Linked DNA regions of Homo sapiens: region 1 is linked to region 2. The links are contacts of gene promoters, found by promoter capture Hi-C in blood cells and fetal thymus (Javierre and others, 2016). All regions are on one chromosome and are shown on one strand. The core of a region is centred on a gene start or on the middle of the fragment in contact, and the rest is flanking DNA. Distances in the headings are between cores, read along the strand shown.

Evidence for each region. Contacts are between HindIII fragments. The CHiCAGO score rates a contact against its expected background, and 5 or more counts as called.
Region 1: a contact is called between the fragment with the promoter of RNF19B here and the fragment with the promoter of ZBTB8A in region 2, in 2 of 17 cell types (fetal thymus and erythroblasts). The highest score is 10.1, in fetal thymus.

What each region holds. Positions count from the first base shown.
Region 1 is chr1:32,961,585-32,966,646 of GRCh38, forward strand. It overlaps RNF19B (ring finger protein 19B), which reads right to left and starts at 3,225. Exons shown (of 9, transcript NM_001300826.2): 1 at 2,467-3,225. The coding sequence starts at 3,101. RefSeq lists silencers at 2,370-2,579, 2,940-3,509 and an enhancer at 2,820-3,324. The HindIII fragment of the contact is 3,974 bases long and covers 207-4,180 here.
Region 2 is chr1:32,537,040-32,542,207 of GRCh38, forward strand. It overlaps ZBTB8A (zinc finger and BTB domain containing 8A), which reads left to right and starts at 2,388. Exons shown (of 5, transcript NM_001040441.3): 1 at 2,388-2,533. LOC124903952 (a long non-coding RNA gene) reads right to left here. Exons shown (of 2, transcript XR_007065669.1): 2 at 4,537-4,790. RefSeq lists a silencer at 2,751-3,120. The HindIII fragment of the contact is 1,864 bases long and covers 1,802-3,665 here.

The DNA.
Region 1 (5,062 bases), core at 1,975-4,474, 430 kb after region 2:
CTTTCTTCTTTCCCCAAACTCCACCTTAAGTCCGTAGATGACACATATAAAAAAATACATTGTTTATATATATAACTATATATATGATTATCATTCTTCTAACTAATTAAAAAAATAAAATCTGGAGGATACTAACATAATACTTGGCTAAAATAAGAAATGGCCTAATTTTTTAATAACTTCCAAATAGTTGAGAGTTGTCACCAAGCTTGAAAATTATTTTCTGTGCATTTTTATTGATGTGAGCAAAGACAGAAACTGACTTTAGAAAAATAAAAAAACAAACAGGGACCTTTTCCAGAAAGATGATCTGCCACATTTCTTAGAACTCAAGGAAACATCTCAGAAAGGAGTTAATGTACTATTCCAAAATTAACTATGCAGTGTTTTGTTTTTTTTTTTTCTTGAGACAGAATCTCGCTCTGTCACCCAGGCTGGAGTATAGTGGCCTGATCTCGGCTCACTGCACCTCTGCCTCACAGGTTCAAGCGATTCTGCCTCAGCCTCCTGGGTAGCTGGGACTACAGGTGTGCACCACCATGCCCGGCTAATTTTTCTATTTTTAGCAGAGACAGGATACCACTATGTTGGCCAGGCTGGTCTTGAGCTCCCGACCTCAGGTGATCCACCCACCTTGGTCTCCCAGAATGCTAGGACTATAGGCGTGAGCCACCGAGCCTGGCCTGTGTTCTCTTAATATTCGTTTGGTTAAGAAAACAGATCAACAGTATCTGTAAAACTTTAATATAAATTAACCTCAGAGGGCCAGTAAGATCACTAGACATAGACAGTTCCATGAACCTAAAAGGTCCTTCCTGATACTTATTAACTGAAAGTGAAAGTGAGCCACCATAAACACCATTCCTTTGACCACAACACTTCAAAGTAATTTAGAAACCCCATCTCAGTGAGGTTAAATAGCACACCCATTTCTAAACAAGTTTGGCAGAATTAAAAACAGAAGTTAACTCTTCTTACTCTCCTAGACACTCTAAGACAGCTCCTTTTGAAAGGAGACAACCAGCAGCATCATGGAGATTTCAAAACCACCTTGATATATAGGCTACAATTAAAAGTCCTTAACTCCTTTGAAGCTAAAGATCACACAACTTTTTACTAGCATTACGTTTACACACTGCAAGGACTCCCCAGCATCTTTTTGTCGCCAAAACATGACACACAAGAATAAAATTATCTGCCCAAGGTCACAGAACAGGTAATGGCTGTCTGACTCCCAACTACTTAAATGAGCCCCTCTTCCTGCGTGCAACCCCTTCATGGGATATACTGACAGTAACAATTAGACTTCTAAAGGCGGGGAGGGCGAGGAAGGTCTCCACTGAATGCTTCAGATAGCAAAATCTGGTGTATTATGTCTCTGCAGATATTGCATATTTTAATTTACTGCCCTTTAAAATTCAGCCTACATGGTGCATTAAAAAGACTGTCATCAAGAACTCAAGATCAAAGGGGTTCAGAAACACAATTTCTCCTATCACACCAACCTCTGGGCATTCTTCTCAGTGCCCCCATTGAGACTCTGGACAAAGAACATATCTGTCTACCCCTCACCCTACCCAAGGCAGCAAGGTAAGAACGACAGAGTGCCTCCCGATAGCGTGGCACAGAACACATAGTGCTCAGGGTACCCGAGAGCCTATTCCCCAGTCACCTCCATCCCAACTTTCAGCGGTGGTTGTCAGGGAGAACACGCCTTCTTCTGCAATGCTAAGTCTGTCCCTAGCCAAGTGGACACACCCCTCCGACGCGCTGCCCCCTCAGAATATTCTCATTCCCTCCTTGGCCAAATATCCCCTCCCCACTCTCATTAAGAGATACTCCCCACCTTGGCCGGGAGCGGTGGCTCACGCCTGTAATCCCAGCACTTTGGGAGGCCGAGGCAGGAGGATCACCTGAGGTCAGGAGTTCGAGACCAGCCTAGCCAACATGGTGAAACCCCATCTCTACTAAAAATACAAAGAAATTAGCCGGGTGTGGTGGCGGGCGCCTGTAATCCCAGCTACTCGGGAGGCTGAGGCAGGAGAATCGCTTGAACCTGAGAGGCGGAGGTTGCAGTGAGCCGAGATCGCGCCATTGCACTCCAGCCTGGGCGGCAGGGCGAGACTCCGTCTCCAAAAAAAAAAAGAAAAAAAAAAAAAGATACTGTCCTCACCTCCGGACAGAGGGCATTCCCCCAACAAAAAAACCGCCTCTCCCTGTCTCCTAACTTGGACAGCTCCCTTCCCCTCACCGAATGCTTAGCAGCCACCTCGAGCCCTGGGGCAGGGGGCGGGGTGTCGGGTGCGTTCACACCACTAGTCTGGGCTTGCCTGATGGTTACCACCCCGCCGAAGCTGCCGCCTTGCGGGTTTCCCTGCTTGGGACACCCACGCGGGGTCCCTGCTGCCCCCAGCCACGCCCCTCGGCTGCAGCCCGCCGCCACCCGCGCCACGCCCCCGCGCTCACCCGCAGTCCGGGGCCGGGCACCAGCGGCAGTCGGGGTCCGAGGCTAGGTAGCGGCGCAGCATGAACTCCTCGTACTTGTGCATAAGCGGCGGGTCGGCGAGCAGCAAGCGGATGTCGTGCGGGTTGAGTCGCTCGCTGCACTCGGGGCAGCTGATGGGCACCCTGCTCTCGCTTATCTCCAGGCGCAGGTAGTGGCGGAGGCAGTCCCGGCACGAGCGGTGCGGACAGCTGAGGAGGCGCGGGGCCCGCTCAGGCGGCAGCCGCACCAGGCACAGCGGACACTCCACCTCCTCCGCGCCCGGGCCACCGCCCTCCGCCGCCTCCTCATCGTCGAACCCAGGCTCCGCCGCCGCCGCCGCGGCCTCCGCCTCGGCCTCGGCGGCCGGCTCGGCGGGCAGCGCCTCGGGCGGCGGGCCCTGGGCCGCGGCAGGGGCCGGGGCGGGCGGCGGCTGCGCAGCCGGGGGCGGCGGCTCGGCCTGCGGCTTGGCCCGGGCGCGGCGGCCGCGGGCCGAGGCAGAGAAGACGCTGTGCAAGGTGAGGCGCCGGCGCCGGCCGCCGCTGCGGCACTTAGGGTCGGGTGCGGCCGCATGTAGCGATGTGGAGCGCGGCGACTCGGAGTCCTTCTCGGAGCCCATGGCCGGCAGAGGCCGAGGAGCCAGGGGCGCCCAGCGCCGCCACAGCTCCCGCCTCAGCGCCCCTCAGCCAGCGCCCGGCCGCCGCCGACGCCGCCACCACCGCCTCAACCGCCCTCCCGGCGATAGAAGCCGAGCGGCAACGACGAAGTGATTATAAAGCCTCCGCCCCGCGCGCCGCTGCCCTGCGCAGGCGCTTCGCTCAAACACCTCACAACCCTTGCGCCCCGGTCTAGGAGTGCGCTGGGCAGGGCCGAGCGGGGTGGGGCCGAGCGAGCTGGGGCGGAGCTCCGCCTCCTGCCGGTCAGGTGGTTCCAGGGCCGCCATGTTGCGGAGACTCTCAGAGATCCTAGCCCGCTGCTCTCCCTGGTCTCCGCCTCCAATTCCATCACCATGACACCCAAGGTGGACTTTTTGGTTTGCCGTTCCTCACAGGTTGATTGCCACTTCCAGTAAATGATGGTTCAGTTACATTATTTATAAAAAGCAGGCAGGGGTTGATCAGATGGTGACTCCCAACTGGTTCACCTTCCAACATTTCTGTTTATTAAGCAGACGGCATAAATTAATAAAGAATATATTCATTCACTGAGCTTCTACAAAGTGCGAGGCATTAGAAAATAAAACAGACAAGGTCCCCTATTGCAAGGGACTTCCAGAATAAAGTCCAAATTTCTTAGTCTAGCATTCAGTGTTCTCTATGTATTTAATAAACCCTATGTATATAATAGTCTATTTCTAGGCTCACTTACCATTCTATCCTCCTGGTATCTTGCTTACTTACCAAACTTGTGGAAGGAGACCCAGCGTTTTCTTGCCTGGCAGTGCCTTTGCCTTTCTTTTTCTAGTTCCCCATTCCTCTGACTGGGGGAGGATCTGGACCCTTAGGCTTCCTAGTGGGAGGCAGGCAAACAGCTTCAACAACAGGAATGTATCAGGATTACATTCAATTGCAAATAACAAAAGAAAAAAATAGCTTACGATTGAAATTTATTTATTTTTTTTCCTGAGACGGTTTTGCTCTGTCACCCAGGTTGGAGTGCAGTGGCGTGATCACAGCTCACTGAAGCCTCAACCTCCCAAGCTTAAGCGATCCTCCCACCCCAACCTCTGGAGTAGCTGGGAGCACAGGTGCGCCACCAGGCCTGCCTATTATTTTTATTTTTTTCATGGAGATGAAATCTCCCTGTGTTGCTCAGGCTGGTCTCGAGCTCCTGGGCTCAAGCGATCCTCCTGCCTTGGCCTCTCAAAGTGCTGGGATTACAGGCATGAGCCGCTGCACCTAGCCAGAAATTTCTCTCTTTCCATGAAATATAAGTCCAAAAGTAGGCAGTTCAGGGCTGTTCAGCCATCCTCAGTATTTGGCTTCCAGTGTTAAGGTCACCTCACTATGGTCCATATTCCAAACAGTGGGAAGGAAAAAGGGAAGAAAGATGCATCCTCTTCCTTTTAAGAAGACTGCCTTGGGGCTGGGCGCGGAGGCTCACGCCTGTAATCCCAGCACTTTGGGAGGCCCAGGCTGGCGGATCACGAGGTCAGGAGATGGAGACCATCCTGGCTAACACAGTGAAATCCCGTCTCTACTAAAAATATAAAAAATTAGCCGGGCGTGGTGGCGGGCGCCTGTAATCCCAGCAACTCGAGAGGCTGAGGCAGGAGAATGGCGTGAACCCAGGAGGCGGAGGTTGCAGTGAGCCGAGATCGCGCCGCTGCACTCCATCCTGGGCGACAGAGCGAGACTCTGTCTCAAAAAAAAAAAAAAAAGAAAAAGAAAAAGAAAGAAAGAAAAAAGGACTGCCTCGAAAGTCCCGCACATTTTTGCCAAAACATACTCACTCACATGGCCATACTCAGCTGCAAGGGAGCCTGGGAAACATTCTCTTAACTGGGTACAATGTGCCCAGCTAACAATGAGTGCTCTGTTATTAATAAGGAATGGTAAGATGGGCCAGGAGCTGTGGCTC
Region 2 (5,168 bases), core at 1,138-3,637:
ATATTCCCATCTACCAAGCACCATTTTGCTCCTTCTATCTGGAATGCTCCTGACCACTCACACGCTTGCCTGTTAATTCCTACTCCAGATTTCCAGTCAAGATAACCTCCTCAAGGAAGTCCTCCTTACACAAACCCTCTCCCTCATGAGACGGGTCCCCACTTCATCAATATTCTCATCACACGACATACCTTTCCTTCAGACTTATCCAATTTTCAAATTATACATTTATTTGATTACCATCTGTCTCCCCCACTAGACTGCAAATCCCATAAAAGCAGGGACTTGGTGAATTTTTTGCTCACCACTGCATTCCAAGAGCCTAGAGCAAAAACTTTACCCTTAGCAGGCACTGTTAAAATTGGAATGGGACCAGGTGCGGTAGCTCATGCCTGTAATCCCAGCACTTTGGGAGGCCAATGAGGCTGGATCACGAAGTCAGGAGTTCAAGACCAGCCTGGCAACCTGGTGAAACCCTGTCCCTACTAAAAATACAAAAATTAGCCAGGCGTGGTGGCGGGCACCTGTAATCCCAGCTACTCTGGAGGCTGAGGCAGAGAATTGCTTGAACCTGGGAGGCGGAGGTTGCAGTGAGCCGAGATTGCATCATTGCACTCCAGCCTGGGTGACAGAGCAAGACTCCGTCTCCAAAAAAAAAAAAAAAAAAAAAAAAAAAAAGGAATGGATTATCTTCCTCAAGATTTGAACTGAATAGGTGGAAACAGGGATGGGGGTTGGGTGGGGTGGGAGACAGAGTTTAAGAGACTAGCACTGGTTAATGGTGGAGCTCTAGCATACAGAAACGTGCTCCCAAAGCTAGGAGAATGAAGGTGAGGGACAAAACTCTCATTACCTCTTCCTTGCAACAAAGAGGTTATTTTTGTTTGTTGTTTTTGTTTTTGTTTTTGAAATGGAGTCTTGCTCCGTCACCCAGGCTGGAGTGCAGTGGCACGATCTTGGCTCACTGCAAACTCCACCTCCTGTGTTCAAGCCATTCTCCTGGTTCAGCTGCCCCAGTAGCTGGGATTACAGGCGCGCACCACCATGCCCAGCTAATTTTTGTATTTTAAGTAGAGATGGGGTTTCACCATGTTGGCCAGGCTGGTCTCAACCTCCTGACCTCGTGATCCGCCCACCTCGGCCTCCCAAAGTGCTGAGATTATAGGTGTGAGCCACCACACCCGGCCTCAACAAAGAGTTTATCACCAACCTGATGTGCTCTCTTGAGGAATATGTTTGTGGAACTCTTTTGCATGTTTTAATTAACTAAGGCTAAAATAAAACCTTTGGCTAAAACCATGTCCAGGTCTTTCTGGGGGAATTCTCAATGGGGGCGCTAGCAGAGTAATCTGAGTACATCCAACACACCAGACACCTAATGGTTTTCAAATATGTTTCTACTTACCTGTTCAGAAGGTGAGGAAATGCAACTAAATAGCAAAGCACCTCTGCAGTGACACAGAAGTGACATTGAGACAATTGTGAATATCTTGTATCCTCAAAATGCATAGCTAATTATTCCTGAAATCAAAGTTACAAACTGTCCAATATGAATGATTTTGAACAGGAGAGGAATCCATTAAAAGCTAAACGCAAGTTTTGATAATTTGAACCTTTTCCCTCCAGTTTTACTATAACACAGTACTTTTCAGTACCTGACCCCAGCATAAGGAACTAGAAAACTAATTTATAGAAGTAATGCTTCTACAGTAACAGTGAAAATCCATTGATTTACTATTTTAGCAAATGTATAACCTGATATCTGTACTCTAAATATTAGAGACGTAAATTTGTCAGAGGAAGCTTGGTGTACGATGAATGCTTGCATTGGAAAAGACGCAACTTGCTATTTTTACTAATTTTATATTTCTCTGGACTTAACTAAGAATTATGTTCTCTTATCTCAGCCTCTCTGGGTTTTCCTATTCAAATGAAATGCTTCTGACCTGTACAGGTTTAGAAAAGGTTATCCTCAACTAAAATAACTGCTTCAGTACAAGGGAAAATTCTGTGGAAATCTTTTGCATTTGACGTTGCTAAACTTAAGTACAATAATGTCACATGTACTTATACAGTAATTGTGGGCACGCCTAAGTCCCTCCCTCTTTCCTAAACCAAATCCCCAGATCCTAGAAATCCAGCCCTTCTGCCCTCCGGAGGCGCCTTTCCCAACGTAAAGTACAATTTTAAATTTCAGCTCCTGACTAAAATCATGATCCGCAGTCAACTGCTAGAGAATCTGGGCACCCCGGTGTCTCTGGAGCGTGCAGCGAGTGTGGGCAAGGGCAGGGGGAGTGGGCGAAGCTGCTGGTTGGTGCCTGAAATCTGTGCGTTGCCCCTTTAATTGTGTCCCCAGCCCTCGGGCGTTTCTGTCCAACGCCCACGTCAGCAAATACCTTTTGTTTCTCTCACGTTGGGGCTACTTGTTTTAGGGCGCAAAGGAACGGCCTCGAAAGGGGGTCCTTCCCCAGCCGAGAACCAGGAATCTTCCCTCGGCCCGCGCGCGCGACCGGCCGGTGCGCCGCGGCCCGCGGTAAGTGGCTGCACGCGGCGCCGGCGGAGGGCGGGCGGGCGTCGGGGCTGCCCGGGACCCGCCGCGAGCCTGGCCGCGGGCTCTGACGGCCCGGGCGGCGGCAGTGCTGGGATGCGGGCCCCGGGCGCGCCTCCCCCAGACGTCCCCGGGCCGGGAGCGCGGCGGGAGGCGCCCGGGAGGGGCTGCGGGACAATGGCCGCGCCGTCGCCGCCCGCGCCCGCCTCGCCGCCCGGCCCGGCCCGGGGAAAGGCGGGAAGGCGCGCGGAGCCTCCTGGAGGCGGCGGCGGGAAGGCGGCGGGGACGGCGCCGGGCGTGTCTGGAGCCGTCGGGCGCCGCGGACTCTGGAGGGGCTCGGGCTGCGCGGAGCAAAGACGGGCGGCCGCCGCGGGGGCGCGCGGGGAGGGCAGGGCAGGGCCGGGGCCGGAGTCTCTGCGGGCGCGGCCAGGGGCGCTGCCGGGGAACCTGGCTCCCAGGGCAGTAGCCCGAGTTTCTCGGTGCAGCCTCCATCCTTGGTTTTATGTCAAGATGCGACATCTGGGCTTAGAACCGAGGGCGAACTCACCGCGCCTAACCAATGTTGAGCTCCCAACTATTTGCTTCTGGACGGAACCTTACATGCTCATCTCTACCCATGCGGACCGCCTCTTTTGTGAGTTAGTCAGCGGCTTGTTCCCTTCCCCTTCAGATGCGCTTATGTATCCCCGATTGTTCCAATGGCCCTACTCCACATCATTCTAAGACGCGTTTGGAAGCGGTAGATTCACACACACCTGGTGGGCTTCTAACCACACACGTCAATATCACCTCTATGCTTGATAAACCTTTATAGTTGCACAACTTTAAATGGAGTGCTTTCACCTATATGAATTATTTCACTTAATTTCACATAAAACAACCACCTAGTCAGGCTGACGGTAATTCCACTTTGCAGATGAGGGAACACGTATGAAGCATGGCGTTTCACCTCTAGGCTAGGGTGACCATAGCCGCCCAGGGCCTCCTGTTCCCGCCCTGCCTTCCCTCCTAAGGCACCTCCAGAGGAGTCTTTAGAAGGGCCAGTCTTAACACAGCGCTTCCCTGCTCTAAAAACCTTAACTGATCTTTTTCAGGAAAGCCTCCAAAATCCTCAACAAGCTTCTGCTCCAGTCTTATCTCCTCCATGCCTCAGGTATGGATGCGTTTGTAGACTGGAGCAAGAGCCCCTCACTGATAAGCAGGGATCAGATGTCTTTATTCCTGGGAACCTCTCTGGCCACACAAGTGGCAACTGGGAAGTGAGAATCTGGCTTAGGGCCCTTGATCAAATGGGTGTCTGGGTGGATTGTGCTCTAAAATGTCAGCAGGAGGCATAATGAGTAGGGACTCCAGGAAGGAGGCCACACCACTAACCCTTATCTCCTAGCCCTGAAATCACCAGCTTCGCTGTTGATAATGATTTGGGGCCATCAAAAACTTTGTAAGATAGAGTAATTTAATTCATCGTATGTCATTTAAATCTAATTTTTAGATAAAACTGTGTAATAGACTTAACTCAGTGACACAATGATATGTTAATCATATTTAAAGATTTGATGTGTTTGATTCCCTTGAATGAAGCTTTTGCCACTTTTCTGCTCAAAATTGGTCAGTGGCTCCCCATCTTACGCAGTTTAAAAGCCAAAAGCTCCATAATAGTCTATGCAGCCTTACAAGCACCTGGTCTCACCATGTCCTACTTCTCTCATGATCTGCTTTCCCTTTCTGACTCCATATCCCATTGCTTCCCCCATGCCTCCTTGCCTGCTCACCTCAGGGCCTTTGCACTTGCCGTTCCCTTTGCCTGAAATGCTCTTCCCCCAGACACCCACATGACTCTCTTACTTCCTTTGGACTTTACCCAAATGCCATCTTCTCAATGAGGCTTTCCTCAACTATAGTTTTGATTCTCTTAAGTGTTTTTATTAATTCTAAATCTTTTCTGTCTCAGGCCATTTGTGCAGCTATAAAAATACTTTGGGACTGGGTAATTATAAAGAACAAATTTATTTCTCACACTTCTGGAGGCTGAGAAGTTTAGGCAGTTTGGTGTCTAGTGAGGGCTGCTCTTTGCTTCCAAGATGGCACCGTGTTGCTGCATCCTCTGGATGGGAGGACTGCTGTGTCCTCACGTGGCAGAAGGAATGGAAGGGCAGAAGAGGCTAAACTCACTCCCTCAGGTGCTTTTATAAGGGCACTAATTCCATCCATGAGGGCAGAGTCTTCGTGGCCCAATCACCTCCTAAAGATGATACCGTTGCAATCGGGATGAAGTTTCAACATGAATTTTGGAGGGGACACAAATGTTCAAACCATAGCTCTTAAATGTTTTTAATACAGACGATCACTGACTTACAATGGCTTGACTTACGATTTTTTGACTTTACAGTGCGTTTAATGGGGTATTAAATGCATTTTAAACTTACAATGTTTTCAACTTAAAATAGGTTTATTGGAATGTAACCCCATCGTCAGTTGAAGAGCATCTGTACTTAATTCTAAATCTTCCAAAGCTGAAGGATCATTTATCCATCAAGGAATACAGTTACCACTCTAGTTAGCTGAAGTTCTTTATGACTCAGGAACGTTTGCTAAGCAGGCTAACAAGATTAGTTTTGCT